Linked DNA regions of Homo sapiens: region 1 is linked to region 2. Evidence: promoter capture Hi-C in 16 types of primary human blood cells and fetal thymus (Javierre and others, 2016). All regions are on one chromosome and are shown on one strand. Each heading gives the region's core, a stretch centred on a gene start or on the middle of the fragment in contact. The rest is flanking DNA. Distances are from core to core; before and after follow the strand shown. Region 1 has its middle 58 kb from the start of RASSF3-DT. Region 2 holds the start of TBK1 (TANK binding kinase 1).

Region 1 (6,455 bases), core at 2,826-5,325, 98 kb before region 2:
CACCTGAGTTCAGGAGTTCGAGACCAGCCTGGCCAACATGGCGAAACCCTGTCTCTACTAAAAATACAAAAATTAGCCAGGCGTGGTGGTGCGTGCTTATGATCCCAGCTACTCAGGAAGCTGAGGCAGGAGAATCTCTTGAACCTAGGAGGCAAAGGTTGCAGTGAGCCAAGATCGCGCCACTGCACTCCAGCCTGGGCGACAAGAGTGAAACTCCATCTCAAAAACAAACAAATGAAAAAACCACACACACATTTCAATCTACTGAATTTGCTCTTGTCAGGATTAATCCCTCCATTTGCTAAGCCCAGTGCTCATCTGAATTTTGACAGCATTGACCCTGAACCTTTGCTTTCGTCACATTTTATGAGGGACAGTGACCCAGAGAAGAGAAAGATAGTCATAGGTCTGAAAAGAGAAGAATGTGTTCTGTTGTGTTCTTCAAATCAGAAACTGGGCCAATGGGCTAAAACTACAGGGAGACAAATGCATTCTTAATCCAAAAGTGCATAGTCCTAACCATGCCCCAGACAACTTTTTTTTTTCTTTCTTTTTTTTTTTTTTTTTGAGACAGGATCTCACTCTGTCACCCAGGCTGGAATGCAGTAGCGTAATCACAGCTCACTTCAGCCTTGGCCTCCCAGGCTCAGGGAATCCTCCCACCTCAGCCTCTCGAGTTGCTAAGATTACAAGTACATGCCACCATGCCTGGCTAATTTTTGTATTTCTTGTAGAGACAGGTTTTTGCCATGTTGGCCAGGTTGGTCTTGAACTCCTGGGCTCAAGTGATTCACCCACCTCCACCTCCCAAAGTGCTGGGATTACAGGTGTGAGCCACTGCACTCAGTCCAGACAACTTCTTAAATTAAGAAACTTCCCTTCTGGAGAAATGCTTACGTAGAGGCTGGATGGTCACCTGTTGGATTATAAGCCTGATTGGAAAGGAAGTCAGGTTGCCTGACATCCAAGGTCTCGTCTCCTTCTGAGATTTGGTGATTTCTGTGACCTGGACAGTGCATCAGATGTTTTTTGACCCCAAATGGCATACTTCTCTTTGCAAATGACATATTATCCTGAAGCATCTATCTTCTTGTAATTCTTAATAACTCTTCCAAATTTCTTTGCAGTAGTTTACCAGTACCACAATTGGCAAACTTTCAACTCTCCCTGGCCCAATGTCAGGAATATTTAACCCCCCGGTCCACCCTCACTTGTCAGCAGTTCTGCACTTAGACATATAGCTGTTTGCTTCCTATTTAAACTGAACCTAGTGTAATTATTGAACTGGACTTCTAATAATGATATTAACAAAGTTACCGAAAAGGAAAAGCTAACAACTTGCAGACCTCTAAAGTTGGTACTGAGCATATAAAATATCATGTGATATCAAAAAGAGATTGTGTGGAAAGTGCTGCAGGATGAGGGCAGACAGAAAACGTTTATAGACTCACAGGCCTTTGGTGTGTGGCACCACACCCGGCTAATTTTTGTATTTTTAGTGGAGATGGGGTTTTGCCATGTCGGCCAGGCTGGTCTCGATCTCCTGACCTCGTGATCCACCCGCCTTGGCCTCCCAAAGTACTGGGATTATAGGTGTGAGCCACCGAGCCCGGCCCCAAGTTGCTATTTTTGAAAATAAGGACGGAGGCCGGTGAGCAGAGATTGCGCCATTGCACTCCAGCCTGGGTGACAAGAGCGAAACTCCATCTCAAAAAAAAGAAAGAAAGAAAAAGAAAATAAGGATAGAATCAACCCAAATGCCCACCAATGATAGACTGGATAAAGGAAATGTGGTACATATACACTATGGAATACTATGCAGCCATATAAAGGAACGAGATCATGTCCTTTGCAGGGACATGGATGGAGCTGGAAGTCATTTTTCTCAGCAAACTAACTCGGGAACAGAAAACCAAACACCACATGTTCTCACTTATAAGTGGGAGCTGAACAATGAGAACACATGGACACAGGGAGGGGAACAACACACACTGGGGCCTGTCAGGAGGTGGGGTAGCGGGAGGGAGAGCCTTAGGAAAAATAGTTAGTGGATGTTGGGCTTAATACCTAGGTGATGGGTTGATAGGTGCAGCAAACTGCCATGGCACACATCTGCCTATGTAACAAATCTGCACATCCTGCACATGTACCCCAGAACTAAAAATAAAAATTAAATTTATCCTGCACATGTACCTGCACATCCTGCACATGTACCCCAGAACTAAAAATAAAATTAAAAAAAGAAAATAAGGGCAGTGGAACCCAGGGTTCAAATCTCTTGCCCGAGTTCTCCTGGGTCTCAGGTCTCAGCTTTCCCTCTACCCTTTCCTTTCTCTCTTTCCTCCTTCCCTTTCTAGCCAAGCGCCCTGGCTCCCCAAAGTAAATTTTCCCATGTCCTTTAAAAAACAAAGCACAGAGAAAATGTTGCTTGCTCAGAGTCACATTACAATATTTAAATAAAACTAACTCTAAGGCCCCCCTAAATTTAGGGTCTGGGTGTGACTGCATTGTTTCTGTTCTTGGACCAACAAACCCCAGGGGTTTTCTGATGGCTTTTGGAAAGCTGTTTGCTCTTGTGTAAGGCGGGTGGACGTTGCTGTGCACATCTCGTAATCTATTTGAAGATAATATCTCTCAGTCTCACAGAAAAACTGAAAATATTTTGGAAAACATTTCGTAGTTGTAAAACTAGCTGTGGACCTTTGGCAAGTTGGTTCGCCTCTCTTTAACTGAAGACTGCTGTTAACCACAAACACGCTTACAAACCATGTGTCTATGCCAAGTTCTAGGCTAAATGGACAAATACGATTGTTGTGAGTATTAAAGAAAACAATAATATTAGTTAACATTAATTGAAGTTTCCCACCAAACACCAGGCTAAGTACTTTTCTATGCATTGCCTAATTAAATCTCCACAGCAATGCTAAGTAGTAGACATGATTACATTTACTACATGCATATTATTTTTGAGACAGGGTCTTACTCTGTCTCCCAGATTGGAGTGCAGTGGCATGATCATGGCTCACTGCAGCCTCAACCTCCCAGGTTCAAGTGATCGTCCCACCTCAGCCTCCTAAGTAGCTGGGACTACAGGCGCGCACCACCATGCCCGGCTAATTTTTGGCATTTTTTGTAGAGCCAGGGTTTTGCCATGTTGCCCAGCCTGGTCTCAAACTCCTGGGCTCAAGTGATCCACTCGCCTCAGCCTCCCAAAGTGCTGGGATTACAGGAGTGAGCCTATTAAATACATTTTGCATGTTATAGTGCCCGCCTATTACATACATTTTATGGATGAGATTAAGTGACTTAACTAAGTCCATTCAGCAAATATGCGGCTGTATACCTTGACCGTCCTTGCTCTTAATCTGTGCATAGGTACTTTGTACATGTCTGGTACTGTAAAGTGCTGTAGAAGTAAGTCTAGTGGCCATCTTTGGGGGTTATGGATATTCCTAACATCTTCCTCTGGTCTCTGCCCCTACTTCTGAATTTGAATAAGGGTGAAACCAAGATCAAACAGCCATCTCGGGCAAGCTTGAGGAGGGAAAAGGAGTCATAGAAACAGTAGCCTAAGGAATGTGTGGGTGGAGGTGGGGTGCTGTGGGTTGAAGTATTCCCTTAGCAGTGAGCCGGCAGGATTGGAACATTTTCGGGCTTTATGGACATGAGCATCAGCTCTTTCTCTCTTTTTTTTTTCCTTTCTTTCTTTCTTTTTTTTTTTTTGAGATGGAGTCTCTCTCCCTCTCTCAGGCTGGACTGCAGTGGCTAGATCCTGGCTCACTGCAACCTCCTCCTGGGCTCACGCAATTCTCCCACTTCAGCCTTCCAAGTAGCTGGGGTTACAGGCACCCACCACCACTCCTGGCCTCCTTTTTCTTTTCGTTTTTTGGAGACGGAGTCTTGCTCTGTTGTCCAAGCTGGAGTGCTGTGCCACAATCTTGGCTCACTGCAACCTTGCCTCCCGGGTTCAAGCGAATCTCCTACGTCAGCCTCTGGGATTACAGGTGTGCACCACCACACCTGGCTAATTTTTGTATTTTTAGTAGAGATAGGGTTTCGCCACGTTGGCCAGGCTGGTCTTGAACTCCTGACCTCAGGTGATCCACCCACCTCGGCCTCCCAAAGTGCTAGGATTACAGGCATGGGGCACTGTGCCTGGCTATTTCTCTTTTCTTTTCTTTCTCTTCTCTTCTCCTTTTCTTTCTCCTCTCCTCTCCTCCTCTCCCCTCTTCTCTCTTCTCCCTTTCTTTCCCCTTCTCGTTTCCTTTCCCTTTCTTGTTTTCCCCTTACATGTTAAATATATTGAAGAATAATTTACACAAAATAAAACGCATTCTTCTTTGTTTCCTTAGTTTTAAAGCAAGATTTATCTCCTTTAGATTCCCAGTAGGAAAAGAGAAAAGAGAGGGCAGGAAGGAGAACTTTAATGGAGGTGGGAAGGGGGTGGGGGGCGCTGAGACTATAGATAAAATCTCTGTGTTATTTCTTCTTTTGTAAAATCACTTAATTTCTGTAAAACTTAATCACCTCCCTCATCAATCAAAGTGAGAATAATAATATCTTGATAGACTTGTGGTAAGCATGAAAGAATATCTGACAGACACAAAGAAGCTTAATTCATGTTAACAATGAAATGATATTGATATGATTGTGTCTAAACCTTAGGACTGTGCAAGGAGTGCTCAAAAACACAAGCAATCATTAGATATTTATTGTTTTTCTTTGAATCCGTGGCACACAGACAAACATATAGGAGTCAATGCTAGAGCTCCCTCTGGTGGCTTTGCTGTCACAAACACACCAACTACTGTATCCCTACCTCCGCTTATGGGGCTCAGGAGAGAGAGGCTGTGCTGGCTGCTGGCCGCCATGTCAACACCCCCCACAGGAGGGGAGCTTGGTAGAGGCCTTGCTACAGGTGCTTTCATCAGAAAGTTTTACCATTGACTCCTAATGATTAAGAATAATTAATTCCCCAGGTGTGAAATTGAACTGTGTGAAATTAGCTGGTATTGAATCTTTACTGACAGAAATGGTAACTTTATGTCATTGAATCTAGTAATTGCTGCTATAATTAAAAATCTGAGTGTGTAAAGTAGTAAATCAGTTACAAAGGAAACAAACATACAACAAAGGAAGCAAAGTGCACAATGACTTTAAGAATGACTTTGTGGCCTCTGATTAGCTTTCAACATTTAAAAATTCTTTTTAGAGATAGGGTCTCACTATGTTGTCCAGGCAGTTCTCAAATTTCTGGGCTCAAGTGATCCCCCCAAAGTGTTGGGATTATAGGCCAGAACCACTGCACCCGGTCTTCTGTAGGATCTACAACTGGCAGAAGAACAGTCTGTCTCTCCACATTTAGTCAAACCCCTCAGGGATTTTAATAACTAGGACTGTTTTCCTTATTTCCAGTATCTCTTCTAACACCTTCACCCTTATGTCCCCACCTTACCCCAATTAGAAATTCAAGTGTTGTTGGGCTATCGTACCCCACTTTTCTGGGAGTTCACTCAGACCTTCCCTTTCCTTTCCCACTTGGGAAAGGATCCACTCTCAGGGCCTTGAAGACAATTGATTGTGAAGTCCACATCCTCTGAGAAAGACCAGATCAAGGGCTTACAAAAATTACTAACCTCTGAGTCTTAACTTCACTAATGACAATTTGAAAATTGGAACAGATCAAACCACTGGATCATTCCCTCACCCTGCCCACCAAATCTTAAAGCACTAAGCCCTTTAAAATTGAATTTTAAAATGGATTTAAAATTTAAAGATTTTAGGTGGAATACATTACTCAGGAGACTATGGATGAATTTATAGTGAGCTAAGTTTGTTTGTGAACTGCTGGAAAGGGTATAAACTGGTATGAAGTTCCTATTAAAGAAGTTGGCAGTATGTATTAAGGGCTATTAAAACTCTTGACCGATAAATCCTCCTTCAGAATCTGTATTAAGGAAACAAGAAGAAATGTAGGAAAAGATTTTCATACAAAGATATTGTTGCAGCTTCATGTTCAACAGTAAGAAATGCACCAAAAGAAGTAAAATTGTTGGCCAGGTGCTGTGGCTCATGCCTATAATCCTGGCACTTTGGGAGGCCAAGGCAGGAGGATAGCTTGAGCCCAGGAGTTCGAGACCAGCCTGACCAAGATGGTGAGACCTCTTCTCTACAAAAAAAATAAATAAATAAAAATAAAAAAAACTAGCTGGGCATGATGGTGCCTGCCCATGGTCCCAGCTACTTGGGAGGCTGAGGATCCCTTGAGCCCAGGAGATCAAGACTGCAGTGAGCTGTGATTGCGCCACTGCACTCCAGCCTGGGCGACAGAGTGAGACCCTGTCTCAAAATAAATAAATAAAATACAATAAAAAATTTAAAAAGATATGAAGTAGAATTGTTAAATCAATATGAAAGATTCATAAATATTACACCTTAGAGCTCACTTTTTCAGA
Region 2 (5,881 bases), core at 1,063-3,562:
ACTAAAAATACAAAAAAATTAGCCAGGCGTGGTGGCGCATGCCTGTAATCCCAGCTACTCGGGAGGCTGAGGCAGAAGAATTGCTTGAAACCAGGAGGCAGAGGTTGCAGTGAGCTGAGATCGCACCACTGCACTCCAGCCAGGGTGACAGAGCGAGACTCCATCTCAAAAAGAAACAAAAACAAACAAAAACAACACCTATTTCTCTTCTAATTTTGTCTTTGTTGATGAGAGTGATATTGTTACTTACCTCCTTCAAATGTTTTGAAAGATTAATTTATGACATAATTTAAGGTGTTTTAAAATAAAGAAAAGTAATAATGTAAAATATAACAAATATAGGAAAAATTACTTTGTTTCCTTCAGAGCAGAGAAACACTAATGAAGACAAATGTTGTCACTGCATAATATTCCCATAAGCTAAAATTTTATCTACACAATCTACACAGAACCTGACAAACATAAAGGAAAGGTGCAAAAATTATTATTCCTGAAAAGTTACGAACTCTTCTGGAATTAATTTAAGGATAGTTTCTCCAACCTCCAAGTATAAATATATAAACGTACCAAGTAGCCTGTATTATCAAGTCTTTAATACTGAAAAGCTATGGATCTATCAAGGTATACAAAGTATCCAAGCTCCACACTGGACTAAAATTGATGTATGCTAACATAACATAAACACTAGTCCCACCATGCCCCCTTAAACCTGCTGTATTGTCATTAAAACATGGATTTTAATATCCCTCCACAGTAAGTTAAAGCAAAAAGTAGTATGCTAGACTAGGTATTCTGTGATGAATTAATGACCACCAATATCCCCAAGCTGGGTTAGGAAAATGCAGAATGGTCAGGGGTCTCAATTTTACCAATCACTGATATAGTAGGATATTTTTATATAATTTTACTACCCATCTAATTTAGATAAACTTTATATACGACTATAGGAAATAAGCAATAAAAATAAGATTCCCTTTTCACAAATAAGGAATACACATTTGCCAGTCATTACATTTCACTCACGATACAATAACAAACGTCTCAACTATCTAACGAAAAACCTTCCCTAATCAATGTAACTGTAAATGGCAAATAGTACCATTAGGTACCTATATGTATGTACCTTCAGGATAATAAGAAAAATATTTATCAGCTAAGATATCTGTTCTCTATGCAAATACAAAACTATGGTTTCTATTTAACAGTAATCACAATAGTGGTCAGGGGAAATGTCTTTTGAAATTATCTTCCAATAACTCCACAATAACATGTTAAAACATGACTCAGCACACCCACAACGTGCTTGCCATATAAATCTTCCCAAATTTTTGACAAGCATATAAGCAGACACTCAACAACTATGTTGCTGATGATGCCGTCTTCAGCCTACTTCCTTACACCGTCCAAAACGAAAGTTACTATTTGTTGAGGGATGAAAACAGGTTTGACGACATGGCCTATGGACAAAGTTCCAGGATTTCTAAACTCTGCCCCTATGTGATTCATACACTGGGGTTTCAGAGTGGAAAAGACCAGTCTTTGGTTATACATTTGGCAATTACTTGGGAGTTGTTTTGAGGCCACCTACTAAGAATACTTGGGATAGAGATTACAAATTAAACCCATAAGCCAGGTAGACGAGGAGCAAGGAAATGTCTGGGAATTCGTATTTCATCGGCATATATTTAAAACATCTTATGCTTCTAATTTCCGGTGTGAGTCAACCTCTGCGGACTGAACATCACTAAAACTCTAAGGAAACGTCTCTTTTTAATCCTCTGAAAAATCAATACATTTAAAAACTGCCCGTTGTGTCGACGCTCGGAAAGAGGGTAGAAAACAGCGAGTCTAAGGGAAAGAGGTGCCCCTGCCTCCCCAGGCAGCCAGGGCCCAGGCCCGGTAACGGAGTCGTCCTCTTTATGCCCAAAGCCGCCGGACGGGATGCAGGTCGAGGACCGGCCGCGCGGCGCGGAGCGGGGATGCAGGTAACAGGGCCCGCGCGACCATTCCACCGGCTACGGCCACCCGACACACACCCCAGAGGCAGTGTCCACGCAGCCGGGGTCCTGGATGGCTTGGCCTCGGGTCGTCCGGGGCTTCTCGGTGCGCCCGCCCCCGCCCCCGCTCTGACTCAGCATCCCAGCCTCCCACAGGGGGCGGGAGCGCTCCCCGCCGGGCGGCGCAGGCCTGACCGACCGCGCCCCGCGCCGCCTTGGCCCCTCAGCCCGCGGCCGTCTCACTTACCCAGCCGGGTCTCCGCCGCGCCACCGCCGGCGGGCTCCCGCGGCCTCCTCGAGACTCAGGACACTTCCGGCTTCGCAAGCCCTGGCCGGAGGCCACGTGACCGACGGCCGGCGCGCCGGTGCGGGTGCGCGTGCGCACGCCTATGGCCCGTCTGGTAGTCACCACAGCCGCGGCGGCAACTGCCGAGTCGGCTTCCGCGGCCACGGTAATGAGGGGGATGTCTGGAGACACCCCGTCCACTGTTGCCCTCGCCCTTTACTCTAAAGGGGAATGAGGAGCCCTGAGCAGCGAACACAGTAATTGGGATTCCCGCAACTGCAAATCCCGCCCCTTCCCCGAGCGCTGGCCGACAGTAGGGCGGACCGACGCTGAGCAAGGGATTACATCCCAAGATTTACAGGTGTGCAGAACGTGGGACACGTGGGGGGCAGGCACAGACGGCCGGCAGAGCTGGGAGGGATGGATTCTATGTTTTAAGGGCCCACTTTGGCTGCAGTGGAGCCAGATTATCGTCTCGCAGTAATTCAGACTTTACATTGTTTTTTTCATTTTCCCATCACCCAGAAATACATTAAATTCTTAATGTAAAAATGTTCATTTAATTCCCTCTCGGTATTTTGGAAAACGGCCGTATTGGAGTATCTAACTCTAAACTTAAGAATTTAAGAACTAAAACTTAAATACTAAAATTAGGTCCTGCAATATTCGTGCAGTCAAAATCTCAAGCCGCTATTCCCAATAAGGAATAGCTTTCTGAAGGGGTCCCTTCTGCCCACGGACAGCACAACAGGCCTTTCTCAACATGAGGGAGCAGAGACCGCTGCTAATCTAGGGCTAAATTTCTGAGTGGAGGGGAAGAGGAAGATGGTGTTTCCCAGAGTAGCAGCAGCAAACACGAATGAATGGGAAGTCATGCGGAGTGGCTCAGAGGCTTTTGAATGTAACAGACCTAGGGTTGCTGTCTCGGCTGCCAATTACTGACTTAAAAGCTAATCTCTTACCTCTCTAAGCCTCAGTTTTATCAAATGCACAATGGAGATAACAAAAGTCCACTCTAATGAATTCTTACAAAGCAAGTTACTTTATTAGCATTTTAAACAATGTATAAGTGATGGAATCATTCTAACAACACATCTATTCACTGCTTACAATTCCAACTAATTTCAGTTCTTTGATATCTAATGACAAGAGCGAAGACCTGTTAAAGTTCCTTCCACCAGTAAAACTCACAGCTCAAAGTTGTGGGAGTGATTAACTGAGCCACAGGCCTTCATTCACATGTTTACCACATTAAAATACCACACAGTGTTTTCTTATAAGGTCAACCAACTGGGAAGCAATTAACATTAGCATTAAGATTTAAACTGTTAGGCACAGGGCTAAATCAGGCATTATATGAAAACTTGTGGTTCCCTAGTCAAGTCAAACAAATCCCCAAATATTTCAGCTTGTAACAGTTTTGTCCTTCCTCTCTTGAGACAATTATTTGAGTACTTGCTTTTGGAAATAAGGTAATTCATGATGGAAGCTTCCTAGCTGTGATGGTGCTCTAGGCAACTTCAGAGAATGAAGATAGAAGTTATGCATGATTATATAACATGAAGAGTTTAATTTTTATTACACACTCAATTTCCATGCCCTGATTTCTCTTAGCTCTATAAACACATGTAAATCTTCTGCAGAGCTTTAAAGAGCTCTGAAAGGGAAAACACCTTTCCATATATGGAATTGATAGCATAGTAAGGCCGTGTGCAGTGGCTTATACCTGTAATCCCAACATTGTGAGGCCAGTGGGAGGATTGCTTGAGGCCGGGAGTTTGAGACCAGACTGGGTAACATAGTGAGACCCTGTCTCTACCAAAAAAAAATGTAGCTGGGTGTGGTGGTGCACACCTGTAATCACAGCTAGTCTGGATGCTGAGGCAGGAGGATTGGTAGAGTATGGGAGAAGTTACAGTGAGCTATGATGTCACCACTGCACTCCAGCCTGGGTGATAGACTGATCTCTATTCAAAAAAAAAAAAGAAAAAAAAAGTATAGTGATACACTATTAATTCCATATATGCTAATATGAGATAGCATCCATATAAACTACTATCAAGTCTTTATGTGCCAGCTACTGTAATAAGTCTTTTCAAGTTTAACTCATTGAATTCGTAATGAGGTTTGAGGTAGCTACCATTATTTCCATTTTACAAATAGGGAAACTGAGGCTGGGAGACATTCTTTAACTTGCCCAAGGTTCTAAAACCAGTTACTGGCAGAACTGGTATTTGAACCTACTTAATCTGATTCTAGAGCCTGTGCTATATAAACTCTTACCCACTATGCTATGCTATTCATTAGTATCCATTTAACAATTACTACTATTGCAATAGCTGCAATTATCACTCCTATAGTACAGGGGAACCTATCAAAGAAACACTCAGCTTTCACTTATCTATTTCTGAAAACATTTTTTATTAAAGTATAAGGTACATTTCACTGATTTATTTTTATAACTGTCAATTTAGTTAAGTATTTTTATTATATGGTGTAAGAAAAATGTTTGAAATGTCTTCTGGAATTAACCGGAACAAAATAAATGTACAAAATTTAGAATAGAATTTTACAGAGTTTATAAGCCACTGAAGCCCATTCATGAAACCCATTCATGAGGCCAAAGGGCAAAACAAACCCTCCCTGAACATCTCAATTGGGCTTTTAGAATTTAAACGTAAATGTCTATACGAATTCTGCTGCTCAGTTTTGTCCCTCCTCTCTTCTTTCCAGTGACACTACTGATAACTATTATTTTTTCCTTTTGCTTTCTCAAGTAGCCATGAATAAAAATGGAGGAAGGCAGGGGTAAGTACTTCTAATAATTAAATGTCAGTTACCATTTACAAACATAATAAACACATAGGTATACTATAGGTATACTGTGTTCTAAATACATCCAATAAAAGAGTTAGAAAATAAATTGGGATTTTAAATTCTTTTTTTTTTTTTTTGAGAGAGAGTCTTACTCTCTTGCCCAGGCTGGCGTGCAGTGGCACAATCTCAGCTCACTGCAACCTCTGCCTTCCGGGTTCAAGCGATTCTCCTGCCTCAGCCTCCTGAGTAGCCGGGATTACGAGCGTGCACCATCACACCTGGCTGTTGTATTTTTAGTAGAGATGGGGTTTCACCATGTTGGCCAGGCTAGTCTCGAACTCCTGACCTCAAGTGATCCACCTGCCTTGGCCTCCCAAAGTTCTGGGATTACAGTCGTGAGCCACCACGCCCGGCCTGGAATTTTAAATTCTATCAACAGATTCACATAGGCTTTTTCCAGTACATTAAAGAAAAAGACTCTCATATAACAGAACTAAGTTGCATGTTACCTTTGAGGAGTGAGGTTAAATGAATTAAAGCATCCACACACTCATATTTGTAAACCTTTAAATGGGAAATTATGGAGAGATTAAGATGAGAAAATAAAACTAAAGTATTTATAATAATTCCAGAAAAGACTTGGAAGATTTCACTACGTAAAGTTTATTTTTATATATATATATAAAAAAAAGTATAACACTGGAGCCTAAAACCATTCTCTTTTGTAGAATACATATTGGCGTTGAAACAGTTTAAAGAAATGAAATGGCTATCTACAAAA

The links. Contacts are between HindIII fragments. The CHiCAGO score rates a contact against its expected background, and 5 or more counts as called.
Region 1: a fragment that was not itself captured here is called in contact with the fragment with the promoter of TBK1 in region 2 in 3 of 17 cell types (activated CD4 T cells, non-activated CD4 T cells and total CD4 T cells); the score reaches 6.1 in activated CD4 T cells.

Annotation. Positions count from the first base shown.
Region 1 is chr12:64,548,089-64,554,543 of GRCh38, reverse strand. It overlaps a transcript of RASSF3 not described here. Among named protein-coding and RNA genes, the nearest start is that of RASSF3-DT, 58 kb to the left of the region's middle. RefSeq lists an enhancer at 4,892-4,941. The HindIII fragment of the contact is 1,077 bases long and covers 3,537-4,613 here.
Region 2 is chr12:64,448,551-64,454,431 of GRCh38, reverse strand. It overlaps TBK1 (TANK binding kinase 1), which reads right to left and starts at 2,312. Exons shown (of 21, transcript NM_013254.4): 1 at 2,245-2,312. XPOT (exportin for tRNA) reads right to left here. Exons shown (of 25, transcript NM_007235.6): 25 at 3,307-5,881. RefSeq lists a silencer at 1,972-2,441. The HindIII fragment of the contact is 9,573 bases long and covers 1-3,774 here.